Regions from separate parts of the Homo sapiens genome. Here regions 1, 2, 4 and 5 are each linked to region 3. The links are contacts of gene promoters, found by promoter capture Hi-C in blood cells and fetal thymus (Javierre and others, 2016). All regions are on one chromosome and are shown on one strand. The core of a region is centred on a gene start or on the middle of the fragment in contact, and the rest is flanking DNA. Distances in the headings are between cores, read along the strand shown. Region 1 overlaps SGK2 (serum/glucocorticoid regulated kinase 2). Region 2 holds the start of TOMM34 (translocase of outer mitochondrial membrane 34). Region 3 holds the start of OSER1 (oxidative stress responsive serine rich 1). Region 4 overlaps YWHAB (tyrosine 3-monooxygenase/tryptophan 5-monooxygenase activation protein beta). Region 5 overlaps SRSF6 (serine and arginine rich splicing factor 6).

What was found. The method cuts DNA at HindIII sites, captures the fragments that hold promoters and counts their contacts. A CHiCAGO score of 5 or more calls a contact.
Region 1: a fragment that was not itself captured here is called in contact with the fragment with the promoter of OSER1 in region 3 in 1 of 17 cell types (neutrophils); the score reaches 5.4 in neutrophils.
Region 2: a fragment that was not itself captured here is called in contact with the fragment with the promoter of OSER1 in region 3 in 1 of 17 cell types (fetal thymus); the score reaches 5.1 in fetal thymus.
Region 4: a contact is called between a fragment that was not itself captured here and the fragment with the promoter of OSER1 in region 3, in 1 of 17 cell types (total B cells). The highest score is 5.6, in total B cells.
Region 5: a contact is called between a fragment that was not itself captured here and the fragment with the promoter of OSER1 in region 3, in 8 of 17 cell types (M2 macrophages, monocytes, total B cells and 5 more). The highest score is 12.0, in M2 macrophages.

The regions. Positions count from the first base shown.
Region 1 is chr20:43,579,594-43,583,558 of GRCh38, reverse strand. It overlaps SGK2 (serum/glucocorticoid regulated kinase 2), which reads right to left. Exons shown (of 13, transcript NM_170693.3): 12 at 3,498-3,587. Among named protein-coding and RNA genes, the nearest start is that of IFT52, 9.4 kb to the left of the region's middle. The HindIII fragment of the contact is 4,480 bases long and covers 351-3,965 here.
Region 2 is chr20:44,960,291-44,964,580 of GRCh38, reverse strand. TOMM34 (translocase of outer mitochondrial membrane 34) reads left to right here and starts at 4,184. Exons shown (of 7, transcript NM_006809.5): 1 at 4,184-4,290. The coding sequence starts at 4,248. It overlaps STK4-DT (STK4 divergent transcript), which reads left to right. Exons shown (of 3, transcript NR_038341.1): 3 at 1-787. RefSeq lists a silencer at 3,926-4,005 and an enhancer at 4,236-4,290. The HindIII fragment of the contact is 749 bases long and covers 2,666-3,414 here.
Region 3 is chr20:44,208,345-44,212,388 of GRCh38, reverse strand. OSER1 (oxidative stress responsive serine rich 1) reads left to right here and starts at 1,618. Exons shown (of 4, transcript NM_016470.8): 1 at 1,618-1,693. It overlaps OSER1-DT (OSER1 divergent transcript), which reads right to left and starts at 1,429. Exons shown (of 3, transcript NR_038339.2): 1 at 1,312-1,429. RefSeq lists silencers at 1,216-1,664, 1,860-1,929 and an enhancer at 1,589-2,208. The HindIII fragment of the contact is 3,146 bases long and covers 573-3,718 here.
Region 4 is chr20:44,906,253-44,909,754 of GRCh38, reverse strand. YWHAB (tyrosine 3-monooxygenase/tryptophan 5-monooxygenase activation protein beta) reads right to left here. Exons shown (of 6, transcript NM_139323.4): 6 at 1,223-3,373. The coding sequence ends at 3,317. Among named protein-coding and RNA genes, the nearest start is that of PABPC1L, 2.1 kb to the left of the region's middle. The HindIII fragment of the contact is 4,218 bases long and covers 144-3,502 here.
Region 5 is chr20:43,458,741-43,462,682 of GRCh38, reverse strand. SRSF6 (serine and arginine rich splicing factor 6) reads right to left here. Exons shown (of 6, transcript NM_006275.6): 3 at 2,788-2,912; 4 at 2,442-2,650; 5 at 2,085-2,168; 6 at 1-1,980. The coding sequence ends at 1,620. Among named protein-coding and RNA genes, the nearest start is that of SRSF6, 2.8 kb to the right of the region's middle. The HindIII fragment of the contact is 2,503 bases long and covers 1,173-3,675 here.

The DNA.
Region 1 (3,965 bases), core at 1,341-3,840, 630 kb after region 3:
TGCAAATCTGCTTTAGTGTGCAAGTCGGGCTATGGAGCCAAACAGATCACAGTTTCTAGCTTCTCAATAAGGCTACAAGACAAGGTAGTCCCAGCCCAGCACTCAGAGTTCCAAGATCAGAATGTGCATCCTGGCCCTTATTAGTTGTGTGACTGTAGAAGAAAATGATACTAAAGAGACTTACTGAAGACCTCACAAATGGTAGGTGACAAAACCAGGAATCCAGCTCCGGAGTGTCTCATTCTAAAGTCCATTCATCTCTGCCTAGTATTCCATGTATGGTTCTCTCTCCAGGGTATAAGTTCGACATTATCTTCACTGTCTTTTTAAAATCCCAACGAAAAGAAGCTTTTCTGGTGCCTGGCCCGAGTGTATCCTATCTGATCCAGTGCCCAAAGACAAGTTCATGAATAGGTAATTAAACAAATGAGAAATGTAAATGGTGAATTAACATTGGCAGTGTTTGATATGCAGGCTGTTTCGATGGAAGGGGCTTGGCACCATGCTTTACAGGTAGACCACACAGCTTCACACGCCCACCTCCAATAGGACTCCTTTCATTCACACTGCCACTACCAATTAACATTGCAAAACTAGCACTTTGGGAGGCCAAGGCAGGCAGATCACTTGAGGTCAGGAGTTCAAGACCAGCCTGGCCAACATGGTGAAATTCCGTCTCTACTAAAAATACAACAACAAAAAAATTAGCCAAGCATGGTGCTGAGCGCCTGTAGTCCCAGCTACTCGGGAGGCTGGGGCATGAGAATTGCTTGAACCTGGAGAGGCAGAGGTTGCAGTGAGCTGAGATCGTGCCACTGCACTCCAGCCTGGGCAACAGAGCAAGACTCTATCTCAAAAATATAAAAATAAAAGCCAGGCGCGATGGCTCATGCCTGTAATCCCAGCACTTTGGGAGGCTGTGGTGGGTAGATCACTTGAGGTCAGGAGTTCAAGACCAGCCTGGCCAACATAGTAAAACCCCATCTCTACTAAAAATACAAAAATTAGCCAGGTGTGGTGGCATATGCCTGTAGTCCCAGCCACTCGGGAGGCTGAGGCAGGAGAATTGCTTGAACCAAGAAGACAGAGGTTGCCATGAGCTGAGATCGTGCCACTGCACTCCAGCCTGGGCAACAAAGTGAGACTCCACCTCAATAAAATAAAATAAAATAAAAATAAAAATAAAAATGAAAATAAAAACTGGCCAGGTGTGGTGGCTCACACCTGTTATCCCAGCACTTTGGGAAGCTGAGGGGGTGGATCACTTGAGCCCAGGAGTTCAAGATCAGCCTGGGCTACATAGAAAAACATCATCTGTACAAAAAATACAAATTAGCTAGGTGTGGTGGCACCCACCTCCCAACTACTCAGGAGGCTGAGGTACTCAGGAGGCTGAGGTAGGAGGATGGCTTGACCCCAGGAGGTGGAGGTTGCAATAGGCAGAGATCATGCCACTGCACATCAGCCTGGGTGATAGAGTGAGACCCTGTCTCAAAAAATAAATAAATTTAAAAAACTAACCATCTTTACTATAAGACAAAGAAATATAAATTAAAACAATTAAGAGATGCTGTTTTTTACTTACCAAATTTGCAAAGTAAAAAACAATAACCACACATGCTTCAGAGTGCAAGCAAGATGAGAACTCTCCAGCAAGTGCCGCTGGTAGGAAGTAGATGGTTCTCCCTTCCACACAGTGAAAAGGTGGTGTGAATCAACAACCTAAAAATGGCCAGGTGCGGTGGCTCACGCCTGTAATCCCAGCACTTTGGGAGGCCAAGGCGAGTGGATCACTCGGGGCCAGGAGTTCGAGACCAGCCTGGCCAATATGGTGAAACCCCGTTTCTACTGAAAATGCAAAAATTAGCCAGGCGTGGTGGCGCATGCCTATAATCACAGCTACTCGGGAGGCTGAGACATGAGAATTGCTTGAACCTGAGATCGTGCCACTGCACTCCAACATGGGCGATCGAACGAGACTCTGTCTCAAAAAAATAAATAAATAAAATAAAAATAAAAAAAGAATCTAAAAAACATTAGCATTGGGAATTCCCCATATGGAATCCATCTTAAAGAAATGACCAGAATTCTGGGCAAAGACATATACTTAAAGCTGTTCATCAGCACATCATGATAAAGAAAAAACATAGTAACAACCATAAGATTGCCATTAGGAACATGGGTAAGTAAATTATGTTACCAACATAAGATGGAAATATTATGCAGCCACTAAAAATTGTATTTATAAAATTTTTTATGACATGAGGAAATTATAACATAGTTTTTAGCCAAAAAAGGAGGAAGATAATATAGATGAATAAACACACACACACATATAGATACTATAAAGTAGGACCTAATTAGGTTAAAAACAAAACAAAACAGGCCAGGCACGGTGGCTCACGCCTGTAATCCCAGCACTTTGGGAGGCCGAGGCGGGCGGATCACGAGGTCAGGAGATCGAGACCATCCTGGCTAACATGGTGAAACCCCATCTCTGCTAAAAATACAAAAAATTAGCCGGGCATGGTGGTGGGCGCCTGTAGTCCCAGCTACTCAGGAGGCTGAGGCAGAAGAATGGCATGAACCCAGGAGGCAGAGCTTACAGTGAGCCGAGATTGTGCCACTGCACTCCAGCCTGGGCAACAGAGTGAGACTCCATCTCAAGAAAAAAAACAAAACAAAACAAACAAAAAAAAACACATAGAAAAGTGACTGGAAGGAAATATGCCAGTGGTTTCCCTTAAGTAGTGAGATAATAAGCATTTCGCCACTGCTACTTTAAACTTTTCTGTTTTACATACATTCCCTTTTTTTTTTTTTTTTTTTTTGAGATGAAGTCTCCCTCTGTTGCCTACGCTGGAGTGCAATGGCATGATCTTGGCTCACTGTGACCCTTGCCTCCCAGGTTCAAGCTATTCTCCCACCTCAGCCTCCCGAGTAGCAGGGATTACAGGTGTGCACCACCATGTCTGGCTAATTTTTGTATTTTTAGTAAAGATGGGGTTTCACTATGTTGGCTACACTGGTCTTAAACTCCTGACCTCAAGTGATCTACCCGCCTCAGCCTCCCAAAGTGCTGATACTACAGTCGTGAGCCACTGTGCCTGGCCAGTGTTTTACATACTTTTTATAAGGATATATGTCATTTTTATTATCAGGAAAAAGTCTATAAATAGAAAAGGATAAAATATCTCTAAAGGGCTTGGCCCTATGTGGGTGTGCTGTGCGAAACAGAGCACTTCACAAACTGTAAAAGTCTCTGCAGCCAGAGTTATTTATTGGTGCTCAAGACAAAGGAGCAGCAACATGGCTGTTTATCCAAGAGCTGCACCTGTAGTCAGGCCCAGTTCTGTCTCTAACTGACTGTGTAGCCTAGGACAAATGACTGAGCTTCTTGGACCCCCAAGTTTTCCATCTAGATAAGGAGAGTTGGCAAGCATAGCAAGCTCCCCCAGCCCCGGAAATCCAGAGTCTAGAATGCTGTGACCTCTTACCACATTTGGGTTGAAGGGTGGAGTTAGCCTCTTGTGGTACAGGTCATCCCAGTTTATGGGGCTGAAGAATACATGGTTCTTAATCTCAAGCTGCAGGAAGTGCAGAAAAAAGGTTCTGGTTAGAAGTAGCCCTCCCCATGGGTGCTCTCACCTCACCCCCACATCCTCCAGAGCTCCACAAGCAACTGGCTGTCAACTGGAAATTAACTTGCAGTTCTGGCTAGTTTCCTGGGACAAGAGAGTTTTGCAGCCAAGCCTCTCCCATCATCCAGAATCCAAACCCTTCTCCCCACTACAGCATCTGTTTATTCCAAAACTATTTACTGAGCATCTTCTCTGGGCACCGACCCTTTGCTAGGCTTTGGGGGTGTCAGTGAATAATACATCAGAATCTGCTCTGGGGGTGGGGGAGTACCAGTGGGAGCTTGGAGACCCCTCCCCTCACTCTGCTTCAGTACATCTTGAGTT
Region 2 (4,290 bases), core at 1,791-4,290, 750 kb before region 3:
TTGTTTTGTTTTGTTTTCAATAAATACAGTCAGCCCTCTCTATCAGAGGGTTCCACATCCACAATGAAACATGGTTGGAAAATACAGTATGGGATGTGAAACCTGTGTATAGGGTGGGCTGACTTTTCGTTTCCATAGGTTCTGCAGGGTCAACTATAGTACATGAGTATACTCACATTTTAGTATCCTAATAGATCCTCAAACCAACACCTGGCAGAAAATGGGGAACAATTGCATAACAGTATTCAAGGGACTGGGTATGATGGCTTGCACCTGTAATCCCAGCACTTTTGGAGGCCAAGGCAGAACAGGAGTTCGAGACCAGCCTGGGCAATATGGTGAAACCCCTTTTCTACAAAAAACTTAGCCAAGCATGGCATATTTGTGTAATGCCATTTGCATGACCCACATGGTCACCCTGGACCCCGTGGATCAGGCCCTGCCTGGTGCCACCACCGCCACTTCTGTGCCAGGCCCCCAGTGTGATGCAAGTTGCATGATGCTCTTTGCTGTAGTGCCTTTTAATGGCATAGCTTTGGCAGGTTTGGAGATGTTCAGAATAGGCAAATCCTGTGGTGGATTTGTGGTTGTCTAAGGCCCTGGTGGAAGGGAGCATAGGTGAATTGGAGGGGATGATTAAAAGGTGTGAGATTTCATTTTGGGGTGATGAAAATGTTCTAAAATTGGTTGTAGTAATGGTTATACAACTCTGAATATACTAAAAGGCATTGAATTGTACACTTTCAATATGTGAGTTATATCTCAATAAAGCTATTTTACAAAAAAAGACACCTCTTCCCAGAAGACTTCTCTGTTCCCTTGTCCCTCCCCTGACCCTCTCATCTGTCCCTCCTTCAAATTATTTCAGTACTGTTTTTATCAGTCCTGGCATTTATAGGAAGCACTGCAGGAAGGGATTTCCAGGTATTGACTGCTGTGTAAGAAACCACCCCAAAGTTTATAGGCATAGAACAACAGTCTTTTTTTCTTCTCAGAAATCTACAATTTGAGCATGGCTCAGCAGGAAGGCTCATCTCTGTTTATGGTGTCAATCAGGATCAATCAGCCCTGTCCAAAAGGCATTTCACACAGCTGACAGGTTGGTGCTAGCTGTTGGCTGGAAGCTCACTTGGGTCTGAAGGCTAGGGGCGTCTCCATTTTTCTTGAGCTTCCTCACAAAATAAAGCCTGGGTTCTAAAGCATGTTCCCGAGGGAGAGCCAAGTGGGATGCTGCAGTGCCTTTTAGTGGAAGATACTTAATGTCATTACCACTGTGGAGGGGGGCCACAAAGGCCCACCCAGTTTCAAGGAGAAGGGATGCAGACTCCACCTCCTCATAGGGCAGTGGCAAGGGTCTGGAAGAGCTTGGGGAACCAGAAATATTATTGGGGCCATTTTTGGAAAATAAAATTTGCCACAGCTACACTTATCCGATAAACCACTCAGGAAATATTCAGCTGCAAGCAAGTGAAAACATCTAAATGTTGGCTTAAAGCACCATGGCATTTACTGTTTGTTTTGAGACAGAGTCTCGCCGTATTGCCCAGGATGGACCACAGCAGCCCAGTGATCTGGGCTCACTGGATTCAAGCAATTCTCCTGCCTCAGCCTCCTGAGTAGCTGGGATTACAGGCGCATGCCACCACGCCCAGCTACTGTTTGTATTTTTAGTAGAGATGGGGTTTCACCATGTTGGCCAGGTTGGTCTCAAACTCCTGACTTCAAGTGATCCGTCCACCTCGGCCTCCCAAAGAGCTGGGATTACAGCTGTGAGCCACCACACCTTGCCTTTATTGTTTATTAATAAGCTAATAAGTCAGCAGTTGATTCAATGACTCAGCAATATCTATTTCATTTTTTCCCCTCCCATCCTACTCAGCATGTTGGCTTTTCATACTTGTGTTTATTGCCTCATGGTTGCAAAATGACTGCCACACCTCCAGGTATCATATCCTTAACCCAGCACTACCCAAAGCAGAAAAAGAGCAAGAATGGCTACTTGACCCAGTACCTCTCTGTTATGGGGAGGGAAACCTTTCCCATAAACACTCAGCAGACTCTTTTTTTTTTTTTTTTTTTTTTTTGAGACGGAGTGTTGCTCTGTCGCCCAGGCTGGAGTGCAGCAGTGCAATCTCAGCTCACTGCAACCTCCACCTCCCGGGTTCAAGCTATTCTCCTGCCTCAGCCTCCTGAGTAGCTGGGACTACAGGTGCGTGCCACCACCCCAGCTAATTTTTTGTATTATTAGTAGAGATGGGGTTTCACTGTGTTAGCCAGGATGGTCTCGATTTCCTGCCTTGTGATCCACCCGCCTCGGCCTCCCAAAGTGCTAGGACTACAGATGTGAGCCACTGCGACCAGCCTCAGACTCCCTTTTATCTCATTGCCCAGATCAGCATCACATGTGCATCCCTTGATGAATCACTGGCAAGAGAAAATGACATTTTTCTAATTGGCTTAGAGCAATCCTGATTCACTTCCCCAGGCTGGGAGAGTCTCAGGCAAAATTCAGGCTCCTGGAAGCAAAGATGGAAGTCACTGAGTAGCCAGCCAGCAGCATGGGCCTCATCTGGTTTTCCCACCACAGTCAGTGTTCATCCTTGGTCGGGGCAGAGGGCAAGGGGAAGCATTTCAGATGGAACAGCCATCCAGCCCTCAGAAAGCTTATAGTCTGGTGGAGTTAAGTGTATGCAGATCATTATAACTGAATTCCTGAAGGTAGAGACTAGATCTTTATCAATCAATGACTTTTATTGGATGCCAGACCCTATTAGGGTCTTGGATAAACAAAGATAAAAAGGACCCACTTCCTGCCATTAAAGACCTCGCAGTGTTTAAGGAAAACTACAAACTGGCAATCAAAGGGTGACTAATGCAAAGTTAGGGATAAAGCTAGAGACCAATAGGGAGCAAAGGGAGCATAGTGGGGGGTGGGGAGGGGGCTGGAAGCAGGAAAGGCTTTCAGAGAAGATGATGTTTGAATGGAATGTTATAAGTTAATTCAGGATTAGGCAGGAGAAAAAGTATTTAGAAAAAAAAATCCAGGAGAAGGAGATAACAAGCAAAGGCTAGGAAGCAAGAATTTAGTGTGTGTAGATAGCAATGCGTGGGACATAGAGTCGTCAGATGAGGCTGGAGATAAATTGAAGTCACACTCTGTGAAAGATCTTCATCCATTCTGAAAGCTGATCATACGAATTGGGTCATTCTTGTCATATCCAACTAAGACAGAATTGAAAAGCCAGGGGAACAAATACTCAGGGCATATAACATTGCTCCAAAAAAGTAATTTTTTGCAAGCCTGGCTGCTAAAACTGCCTGCTGTAACCTAAAACCAGTTTTATCTAATAGCTACTGAAACAGCCTGCTACAATTCTGAGTTTTATCCACCACTATCACTTACCAATCAAAGCTTGCCAGCTCCCCAAGAAGCTGATAAACCCCCACTTTACTAGTGCCTGTAAACTTCCTTGAAGAGCAATATGTAACATTTCTGTTTTATAAAAATCTCCAAACCTTCTCTTTGTTCTTCTGACATACCAAAGACAACCTGGTCTGTGTGTAAGCCCTGAATTGCAATTCTTGATTGCCAAATAAAATATTTAAACTTTAGAGATTCATCTCTATATGTTGACTTTGACACCATCAATCCACCTGTGCATTAATTTATTAAATAAATATCTATAGAGCACTAGGTACCAGGTACTTTCTAGCCTTGGAACCTTTGCACTTACCATCCCTCTGGCTGGAACAGCATTCCCTAAATCTTGTCTGGTCTCAGCTCAACTATTACCCCCTGAGAAAGGCCTTCCTTCATCCCCTTATTTAAAATAGCCCACACGTGGTCACTTTCCATTGCATTATCCTGTTTTGTTTTCCTTACAGCACTAATCACATGAAATGAGAGTCTTCGTTTGCTTATCAGTTAATTGCCTGTGGGGACCCCACTAGGACATAATCTCCCTGATAGCGGGGCCAGCCTCCTTCCCTGCGTCATCCACGGCGTTCTAGCAACTCAGGGAGCCCAGAGCATGCTGCCGCCCCGCGTGCAAGGGAGCCTAAGTTCCAAACCGAGCACGCGCAGAGGGCGGGACGCTCCGGGCCTCCAGGTCTCGCAGGCCCCGCCCCCTCGCCGCGGGTTCGCTGTTGGGCGGAGATATTCGCCGCCGGCGCTTGCGCCCGGAAGGTGTGCCGCACCACACGGGGGAGGAAGGAAGGAGCTCCCAACTCGCCGGCCTGGCCACGGGATGGCCCCCAAATTCCCAGACTCTGTGGAGGAGCTCCGCGCCG
Region 3 (4,044 bases), core at 369-2,868:
TGGCAGCTTAAAAAGACATGTTTGGTTTTGATACATTTCACTTGGCAAGGTCTGAGAAAATAAATACATCATATTTCCCGCTTTTTCTTGTCCAAGAGATGTTGAGAAGGGCAGTTTAAATCCTGACTTACTAGCACTGTGAGACAGGACAAAGGCAGCTAGAACAAGTTATCTGATCTCTAACATAATCTAATGCTATCTAACTAGCATCATTAGGTTACAATGAACAGTTTTCTTTCAACCGGTCAGTTACTGAGCCTCTGGTATGAACGACGAGAATTTAAAATGTTTTATCCAGGGCCAACATCATGCTTCATGTTTAACAACGTTATACAATAAATTGTTAGATTTCATTTACAGACATAGGCCAGGCATTCCAAAGCCTGGCTGTAGTTAAGCTGGACACAGTTAAACCATCTTCGGCAGCCTATCTAGTTGACTACAACTAAGGTATTGGGGAATGACGGTGGATGGGGCCAGTTTTGGTTCAGGGAAAAACCCTCACTCTAGGGGTGGGCCACAATCAACGCCATCCAACTCAATTGCGCAAAATCATCTGTTCTCACGAAGCTTTGAGCAGTGCAGACGTGGAGCTGGAGATTGGCAGGCGAGGAGAGGCACAGCTAGATCAGCAGAACCAGTCCTGGTGATGGAGCGGGTGGCAGCTGTTGCACAGATCACCTTTTCCCGCCTACCATCTGAGCAACATTCAGAATCAGAAAAATGTAAAGAATCCTAAAATTCATCTCCTTTGGTGAACTGCCTAAATCTTTTTGCAAAATTTGGTGTGTAGGTGCATTTCTTTGGCAAGAGGATCTACAGTTCTCACCAGATTCTCAAAGGAGTCTACGCCTGAAAACACGAGATTCACCGATAAGGTTCAACTTCCTCACTTACTAGATGGAAAACTGAGAGGCCCAAAGGAGGAAAAGCAGTTGCCTCAAGACAAACAGCAGAGATATCAAAACCGAAGGCATTTCAATTCAATTCTAATTCTGGCTTCACACTATTGACCCTGGCCACGTCCAATACCTCTTCACTTCTCTGCAGGACCTAAAAGATCACCAGGAGGCGAGGGCTGGTGTCCGAGTCCCGGAGAGGTCGCAGGCAGTCCAGATTCTAGCATCACAGAAACTCTGGCCAAGCGCTCAGCCGGGGATTGTCTGCCATAAAGACCCCCGCACCCTGTCCTCGCCCCCGCCCCGTGGAATTCCTCTGCATAGGTGACTCCACGTAGAGGACCGAGCGCAAGGAGATCCCGGGGCGGTGGAGGCAGAGGACTACTGTGAAGAATGACGCCTACTCACTCACCTAACAGAGAGGAGGAAGCAGGCACGCCCCAAAAGCGGGTCGGGAGCAAATCCACGCCACTGGGAGGAGGCAAACCGAAGAATAACAGGAAATTACGTAAGGCGCACGTGCTTCTGAGGGGGGCGGGTGCGGGGCGTTGGAGAGGCGCGGCCGCCGCCCTGCGTCTGCGCAGTCGTCGGCTGCCGCGCTGCCGAGTCACTGGGGTGGGAGGAGCATAAGCAGGGGGAGGGGTGCATGCCGGAGTGCGCAGGCGCAACGCGACTCCCGAGGCGCGGGCCGCCCCCTTGGCTGGTTTGGATCCGGGTCAGTCGGGTGCCGAGATTTGGGAGAGACGCTCTGAACTGACTGCCCCGCATCACCGGAGCGTCCCAGCTGCGAGGAGGTAAGTGCCCTGACGTGACGGGGAGGGGCCGCAGCACTGCGTCTCAGCTTCCACTGCCGGTCTGGCCGCGGGCGGTTTTCCCCGGGCCCGCCCGCCTTGGGTCGCGTCGTCTCCCGACGCCTCCTGCCTGGGCCGGGCCTGGGCCTCTCCGCGCCCCCTTATCTGCCGCGGCCTGTGCCTGCTGGAGCTCCGAGCTCCACGCTCTCTCCCCTTCCCGCCTTCCCGTCCTCCCGCGGTCCCCCGCCCCGTCTCGCTCCTCCGCCGTCTCCCGCCCAGCGGCAGCTTCCCCTTTTCGCCCTCCTTGGCCGCCCTTTGCCCCTTCCAGTCCTTTCTCTCTCGCCTCGGAGCCCCATTCTCTTTGGCTACCTCTTCGGCCCCACTCCTTTCTTCTCCCGCATCCCTTGTGCCTCGCTCCGACTCCAGCCTCTCGTTCTGACCCCAGGAATCTCCCGAGGAGCGCAACTTCACAGCTGGAGACCCCGGGCGGGCAGTGCCCCTGGACAGCTCCCTGCTTGGCGTTGTCCCCACACTCCAAGCCCCGTCCTACCCCTCTGGGTTCTGACTAGGAATTTTCCTCCGTTCATGTTTAACCGCGACAGGCACAGACTCTGGGTGAAAAGAAAGAACTTTGTGCTTTGGCTGCAGCGCTGCGAGTATAAAGGGATGAGTGGGTTGCACGGAGAGGTGTGAATGTGCTTTTTGTCCTGGGGGCCGATTGTTTCCTCCCGGTCTAGTTTGCCTCTTAGAGTTGCTGGGTTTGGTTTTCTTCCCCATACTCTACGCTTTCTGGTGGTCTGGGAGTTTCGAAATCTTTAATGTTGTGATGACAACGCTTACCCGCGCATCCCTTCTTGATCGTTCTTAGGTCTTCTCAGGGGCCTGGAAGTGTAGACCTAGGCTTGGGATTCAAGGAGGTCTTGGTTAAAACGGCAAGATGTAAATAAGATTGTGACGCATCCATTTTGTTGAAAGAAAAAACCAGGAATTTGGCCTTTTGATGGAGGAACTTAGAAGAACTTTGTAATTTTTGTAAGGTTGTGGAAAATCCGAGGCAAAGTTAAATTGCCTGGTGTGATTTGACTTTAACTTCGAATAGGCTTTTTAAAGTTTCATCTCTTTGGAGATTGTTCAACTTCACGAGTTCACTGCAGTGAAAACGCCAAGACTGTCTCCCACAAATTTAATATTAATGAAGAAAGGCAAGCCAATTATATCTGTTGTCCGGAGTTAGTTGTACAGCCCTTTCTTTGAATGGGGATCTGGGGATGCAGAGGAGCATAATGAGCCTTTTATAATTACAAACATGCTCTTCTCTAGCTCTTAAGGTTATGCCTAACGCTCATTTGCTCTTGGCTAAAATAACTGAGAAAAAAAGTGAGTAGTAAAAAAATGCTGGAAGTCTGAAAATGGTTTAGACAGAACTTCATTCCTGAAGTTTTAGTCTGTAGCCAGATTTTAATTCTGGCCTGTTTTGGTTTTTAGATGATAGATCTTTTAGTGTGTCAACAGGAATGTAAAGTTTGTATTAACATCTAGGGTGATCACCTGCCATGCTATTAAGTCAGCATGGTATAATTAAAAGTTACATATGTAGGTTCAGAGCCTCTTAGCACAGTGTTACATTGTAAGCTCTTGGAGGGCAGGAATGAGATTCTAGTCCTTACGGAAATGGAGTTTGGGCTTCTATCCCTAGCATTCATTCTAGTGCCATGCACGTGGTAGGAATTCTGTAAATATTTGTGAAAGAAATGAATTTCTGCCTGTAGGGTTCAGCAGTGTATACTTAAATGTGATGTGTACGTAAATGCTGACTGATTTCCAGAGAGGGCTAAAGAGGACTTGGGGGGCGGTCTGCGGGTTGGGGAGATTGGCTCAGATGATTTATGAACTCGGTAAGAGCTGAACATTGACTAACGGATCATAAGGTAATTGAGGAACATTGTAAGTCAAACTTCAATTTAGTTCTACCAGCAGGAAGGATTTGTTTACAACCTGCAATAGTACTCTTTTAGATGATGTGAAGCTTTGAAAATATTGAAATAAGTGATTGCTCACCTCTCCCCCCAGGTATATAGGAATTGATTGTGTATTTGGGGGATCCTACCCTAAACTGAGAATTAGAGACTAGTGAAGCATGGGATTGTGTGGATAATGTTTCTTCATGTTTATGTACTTAAATAAACCAGCAAAATATACGTCGAGAATGTATCTAAATTATTTTTTTGTCCTAAGAAGTTGAGGTGCAGGCTGGCTGAATTTTTTTTTTTTTTTTTAGTAGCTGAATTCTTTTGAGACTGTTTTCAGTGTTCCCCAGAGAGCTCTGCCTAAAATACCTTAACTTCCGCAAATAA
Region 4 (3,502 bases), core at 1,003-3,502, 700 kb before region 3:
CAGATGATCATCTTTCTGAACCCGTTTCCCTTCTCTGTAAAATGGGAATGATTCCCTCCTGACAAGAATGAAAGGAGACCCAAACCGCGCTTTTTGCGTTTCACACACAAACGGAATTCCGAACAGGCCACTGTTTCAAAGCTTGTGTAGAGAATTTTACCCTGCTCCATTGAAGATGTCTTCCTCCAGAGAGCCTGATCCAGTCCCACCGTTTCGCACCAAGGATGGAAATGGCTTTGAGACATGAGAACTGGAGACCACTAAGGCCTTTCTTGGTACTGGCTCATATTACCAAGACCCCTTTTCCTGGGATATTCCCTGTCCCTCTGCTAAGCCATTACACATCCATTACACCAGGGAGGTTCACTGAGTTACTTGTGGCTCAGCCTAAATGCGGACAATTGGGAACTAATAGCAGAGCAAGACCTAAACAGAGCAAGACTGTGAATCTGAGCTTGCAGCGTCAATCTGTGGTATAGGGACATTAAAAACAACACAAAAACAAAACAACTACTCCACTGAGCACCAATACTTCACTTTTCCTCTGATAGGACTTTCCTGGTCTCACTGATCCAACAGAGCAGGTAGGCCCCCACTGACTTTTGGTTGAGTGTGGCTTCAACAGGTGGAACAGCTCCTAAACTAGGGACAGAAGGTGCCCATCTGGCTGTCCAGCCTCAGAGTAGCAAGGAAGCACTAATTCTAATCTTGGGCTAAAAAAGACCCCTCTATCCTGATATTTTTCTCTCCTTGTGGTAATGTGGATGTTTTCAGAAGGGGCAAATCCTGTGAGGAACCAGCTCTGCAGGCCACCATACAGTGTGAGGACAGGTGAGACGCCAGCTTGGTGATGACCAAGACTTATGCAACCATAGGTTACCTATTTCACTGGCTTGGTTGTATCTCAGAGTTAAAAAATGGGGAAGGGATGGTGGGCTCGAATACAATGCAAAATAACTGTCCATACCAAATCTTAGAAGTCACTAAAGAGGACCTAATACCTGCATGGTTTGTTGTGGAAGGTAGAGAGGTATCAAGTAACGGGTGTAAAGAGGCTGTTTAATTAATGGTAATTTCTTCCCCTGGATAACACCTTGACTTCTGGTCCTAAATAATGAAATAAAACTGTTTGCCTATTTTTAAAGAAAACAGAGTTAAAAATAAGTGTGATCAGAATAGTTAGCTAGGTCTGGTAACAACAGAGATGGTGGTGACACATCAATTCACAGGCAACTAACTGATAAAATTTTTATTTCACTTTTGAATTTTTACACTTTTCCTGATTATTCTGTGTAAGGTGAAACTAGAACTGTTTAAAAGACATACACAAATCTAGTACATCAATAACCGGGGATTTTTCTTTTTTGCTATACTATTTTCACAACCACGGGTGTGCTTGCTAGGCAATATAACCATCACAGAAGCAAACGTTAGGCAGAATACTGGTAAGAAAAAACAAAGCAAGAAAAGAGCTACCAGATATACAGACAGGCTTGGTTCCACATTCACTACTGCATTTTCAAGCGCCAAGTATTAACTGCACATTTTTGTTCAGCTAGAAAGGAGGGATTTTTTTTTTTGTTTTTTTCTTTTTTTTTGGTTTGTTTTAAATCAGTGCATAAATTTTTCTTTTCTCATTTCAGCAGATGGACAAACAGATGGACTCTACAGCTAAGTGGAATATCAAAGGTAGAGGGGTGATTCTGTGAGACTGATAGGCCTGACTATTCTCAATTCTCCCCACTGCAGTGTTCACGCAACTTCCCTGAATATAGGGTCTCCTTAAACACATCTGAGCACTGACCTGGATGAGTGCACTTGGGAGACCTGGTGACAGGCACAAAAAGCATGATCAGGGCTAGCCTCAATACAGGGAGAAATCATGGATATTTAAAAATACTTTTTTGATTCAGATTCCGGTATGACTGAAGAGCAACACCGTGTTGAGAACTGGAGGAAGACAGGGTTCTGGTGCCAGAAGCTCTTCTCCAATCTTTAAAGCCAGGCTTGCTCACCAAGGTGCTCAGTAATGTCTCTCACCCCTGCCCATATATAGCATTAAAAAGTGAACAAAAGACAGATAAAGATAGAATTCAAAAAGGAAAAAAAGTAAGGAAGCAGAGGGACAGAAACTTAGAAGAGAAAACCAAGGTCAACAGTCAAAAAGGATGGTGGGAAAGAATGTTTAGATTTCAAAATTTAAAAGCCCCGAGCTAGGAAGAACCTGAAAACTGAGTACTCCTCAAGTGAAAGGCCATCTCTACAGAACATCATTCCTTTTTTTGTTTTTTGTTTTCTTTTTTGGAGATGAGGTCTCGCTATGTTGCCCAGGCTGGAGTGCAGTTATTCACAGGTGCAACCACAGGGCACTGCAGCTTTAAACTCCTGGGCTCAAGCGATCCTCCTGCCTCAGCCTCCCAAATAGTTGGGACTAGATGCACGCACCACCACGCCTGACTCAGGACATTATTCTTAAAGGTATTATCCAGGAAACAGATAAGGTCATTCATAAAACACACGGCTTTTTTTCTTTAGCTCAGTGTTAACAATGAAAGTAGATTCCACTATTGAAGCACAAGTTGCAAATTGGTAACATAGTGAACATATTGCTGTAGGAAAGGGGGTTCAGTGTGGTGTGTTATATGAGCACTTGAACTTTTCAAGGTGTCATAAGCCAGTTATCTGCCACAAAGAATTTCCATTTCAGGATTCGAGTTTCCTCAGAGGAAGACACTGTGGACATTTGTGGTCATGAACTTTTAAGTGGCAACAGCCCAAACAGGTCAAGTGTCTTTAAGTCCCGAACAACGGCAGCATTACTGTGAATTACCATTCAACTCAAATGCCAAATGATGTGTGTCTCACTCCAAGTTCCAGCATCACAATATAATCTCTATAACTTTCTGTACAACTTTACAATGGAATTGTATTTCAATGATTATTTTGATATCAGATTAAACCTTCCAAAAAGTTACACATAATTCAGGTCTATTTTTTCTACCAGTAAGAGTTCTGCTAAATTACAAAACCCCATAATCACAGTGTTCAGTTTTTAAAAAATTAAACACACAGTAATCCTGTCAATGTTAATCAAAATCAAAACTTCGGAATGCCGTGGCATTTATGTGACCAATCTGAGTTTTAGATACAAATACCAGCTGTTTATCCCATGAACCATTTTTCCTAGGCTGAGGCTGTGAAAAATCGAAAGTCGACGTACGATTCTCTTTTTTTTTTTTTTTTTTTTTTTATCGCACAAGGGATATATGTTGAGGGTACAGAGTGACACTGAACAGATCACAAAGCACGAGAAACATTAGTTCTCTCCCTCCCCAGCGTCTCCTTCGTCTCCCTGGTTTTCCGATGTCCACAGCTGCAAGAGAAAGGAAGTATAATCAAAGCAGGGCTACTAAAAGTTCCCTAGGTAAGTGGCCCAGTATGTATAATCTTATCTCACTCGACAGTTTAAAATTATTCCTGTGTCACTGCAGACAGGGATGAT
Region 5 (3,942 bases), core at 1,175-3,674, 750 kb after region 3:
GAACTCACAGCTACTCTGTGAATGCCCTAGATATTTGACTCAAATTTTTCACTCAATCTTATTAGGTATATTTCTGGATTATTTGAATCTACAAACCAACCCTAGAATATCATGCTTTCCAGTCACACCTGTGGCACAATGAGCAGTGTACGACCATGCCCCATCACAATCCAACCCTTGGTACCCTACATTGTGACACCTCCTAGAAAGGTATTAAAGCTGAGCCAATTAATCTATATTTTGATTTCAGACTAAGATTAATAAATGCTTTTAAATAAAGTAACTTTTAAGGTATCTGAACAAAGGGATGTAAGGTTAATTCACTTCTCAAACTGCAATTTCAACTCATCAGGCTTATGGATGTATGGACTAATTGCTAACCTAGTAACTCCTACAAATTTGCAGTATTCAAATTTGGTTTCCACAGTACTCATTACACTTTACTCGTAATAAAGTACAAAAGTTTTGCGTTTACCCATTTCACTGTTTTTCAAACCAATTACACAAAGCATTAAAATTTACAAGTATGATCTAACCAATTATCAAATAATCCCACTAACTACAAAGGGGACTGACTACTGGGTGGAACTTAACTGGCAACTGACTTTACTGAGATTAAGTGCCTGTTAAACATAATGATCTTTCAGCAGAAAATGCAGTATGTGCTTTTACACTTTGAATAAACTCAATTTCAGAACAAAAAGAGGCTACTTCCATTTCCACATGACAAACATTAAAGACAACTGAACCACTCTCAACACTAATTATGCTGAGAACTTCCAGAAAGTGGATTCTCTAAACAAGATCCCAAGTATTAGGAGCTATTTCTTAAATAGTTTAAATTTGCCTTTGAAAAAAGTTCCATTACTTAAAAGTATTAATTTAAGCAAAATCATGGAACACATTGACTAAAAAATACCTTTTATTTTTACTCAACTTGTTAAAGGGGCAGATAAAGACTTTGGCAAATTTGATTAACTGCACAAAATAATGTTATCCAAACTGAGTAATTTATTGCTGGTCTGAGGCTTGCCTTGTTTACACTTAAGTAGAATTTACGTTGTTTCCACAAATGGCAGATATCAACATTTAAAGGAATTTAATAGTGACCTATTCAATAAGGCAATCATCTTGGTAGCAAACTTTTATTTAAATCTTACATAACTCAAGCTTTATAAAAAGCCAACATAATTGAAAATTGGGTTCTCCCTCTAAAGCCTTAAGTATTCAAAGCTCAAAACAGTTAATTTAAAAATAAGCAAACAAATAAAACAAAAAAACCCTGCCAGCAGATCCTGCTGAAATACTAAAAAAAAAAAAAAAAAAAAAAAAAAAAAAAAAAAAACAACACTAAATGAGCTTAATCTTTACAAAAGTTACGTTAGCTCAAAAGCTATAAAATCAAAGTTATCTTAATTCTACAAAGAAGGGAGAGGGTCTTCATGCCACCATTTCCTTAGAGCCTCATCTTTTTCATCCAATTTGGCCACAAATCAAATTTCTGTGTGCCCCTGTTTTCAAGAGATTCCTCTTGCAGAAGAGGCCAAGTATAAACATGGAAGAGTAACTGCCTAAGTAGGAAAGTGTTCCATAATAATGTGCAAACAAGGAGTTCTGAGTTAATCTCTGGAACTCGACCTGGACCTTGATCTTGACTTTGAGCGAGATCTAGAACGGGATCTTGAAGTAGCTCTTTTTGGTGGAGGGGACACAGAACGGGCCTTTGAGGGTGGAACAGGTAGCGGCGAATTGGAACGGGACTGGCTCCTTGATCTGGATTTTGACTTTATATCACCCTTTCCATTTTCTTTAGGGGATCGGGACCGAGACCTGCTTCGAGATTTCTCATACTCATCCTTAGATCTGCTTCGAGAATGTGAATGGGAGCCCCGATCAGACTTGGGCTTAGATTTGCTCTTTGATCTAGATTTCCTGCCTTTTGATCGAGAACGTGATCGACCTTTGCTCCGCGACCTGGAACTGGACAAGGAAAGACCGATTTTCTCAATACTTAGTGAGAATGTACACATACTCCATAAACAAGTACGGTAATATTCACAGTGACTCAACACAACGTTATTTACCGGGAGCGACTTTTTGAGATACTTCGAGATCTACTGCGGCTGCTCCTGCGACTCCTACTTCGTGACCGTCTTCTAGATCGAGACCTATTAGGAGAAAAACAATGAAGTCTTAATCCCAATCCAACTTAAATACATCCGTGCCATCTGGCAAAAATAGATAAGCCAAAGAATAATGTTTTTCTTTACTACGAAATTAAATACACTGTTCAAAACATCCAGAAAAGAACGCAATGATGCACAGCCAAAACAAACTAAAAGCTGGCTTTAATTCAAGTAGGCAACAATTGACATCACTCAATTACTCCCTTTTTATTGGCAAATATTGTTTCCTTCCCACAGTGTCCTTCAACAAGTTACCTGGATCTGCTTCCAGAGTAAGATCGCCTATGGCTTGTGCGTGGCTTATCTTCAATAAGCCTAATATTTCTGCCATTTATTTCTGTGCCATCCAGTTTGTCCAAAGCACGCTTCATGTCAGAGTAGGAGCGAAACTCAATTACACCCTCATTTGTTCGTTCCTTGTGGGCATCCGCATAGGTTACTTCACCTGCTTGTCGCATAAAATCCTGAAAGACAAGATTGGTCAGACTCGGAAATCTTAAAACATCTATATACCATAATAAATTCCCAGAAATAAGAATATAAAAGGAGTTTACTTTAAAGCATTAGTCATATCATTTCTATCTTGAATTACAAAACATACCTTTAAATCTTGCCAACTGCACCGACTAGAAAGATTTTCTACAATAAGCCTGTATTCTGTACGAACAGGTGGTCCGTATTTGTCTCTGCCAGATGTTCTCCGACTGCTGTATCCACCTCCACCACCTTTATCACATGAAGGGAACAATTAGATGCCTTGTAATGATAAAAACGCATAATGTCTTTGAAAGTTAGTACAAACATATCAACTTTTATTTACTGGAGTAGGACTTTGCTATTATATTGCTAAACCTTCGACACATTTGTGATTTGCCATAAAATTAAATTAAGGGCAAGTCAAATAGACTAAATCCAACTAAACCTCTCCTACAATCTGTTAGAGAGTGACTGCTCCTTTATTCGATTTACCTCGCTAAGTTTTATTTTACAGAACATTGTAAAATATAAAACTTAACTGATTACATGCATTTCTACATTTTACAAAAATGTTTACTAGTTTTACACTAAGTACTTACATCACAGTGTGAGGTTTTTGGTGGTGGTTTGGCCACAAAACACGCAAGGTAACAGTCACCTAGTTCAGATTAACCAGTTTTGTCTAACCCTTGGAATCCTCACCATCACCCTGCGTCTAATGGCAAAAGGCTGCTGTCGTCATGGCTTCCGGTAAGGTCAGCCAAAGGGTCATAGGGCAAGGGTCACACAATGTATGGAAAAGCCAAGGCCAATCAGGAAAGGCAGTCATCTTAGCCTCAGTGGACACAGCCTCAGCCCCATTGGTCACTTTCAAATTGAAACATCAAGGACTTGTTAAAAAGTTTGAATTCAACATGCAACAATTTAAACATCAAACATTTAACATAACCAAAAATCCCCCCAACCTCCTCCCAATAACATGCCCCAATTAGTTCAAATACAGCATAAAGCTTATTTAGATCTACTTTGTGGTACAATACCACATTACTTAAAAATAGTACATTCTTTGGCCCCCATCAAGTTCCATAGCTTTAAGACCTATACTTTATGCTCCTCCCCTTCCCCGTCCCCCGCGCCCCCTACCCCACCTCCACCCGAGCCTGCCCCCGAACCTCTAACTAATGCACTGATAGGTAAGTAAGGAGAATACAACAAATACAGCCACCCCTTACTTCCTCTGTGGGAAGAACCCGTGACAGTGCTGACAAGGGGCCAGAAG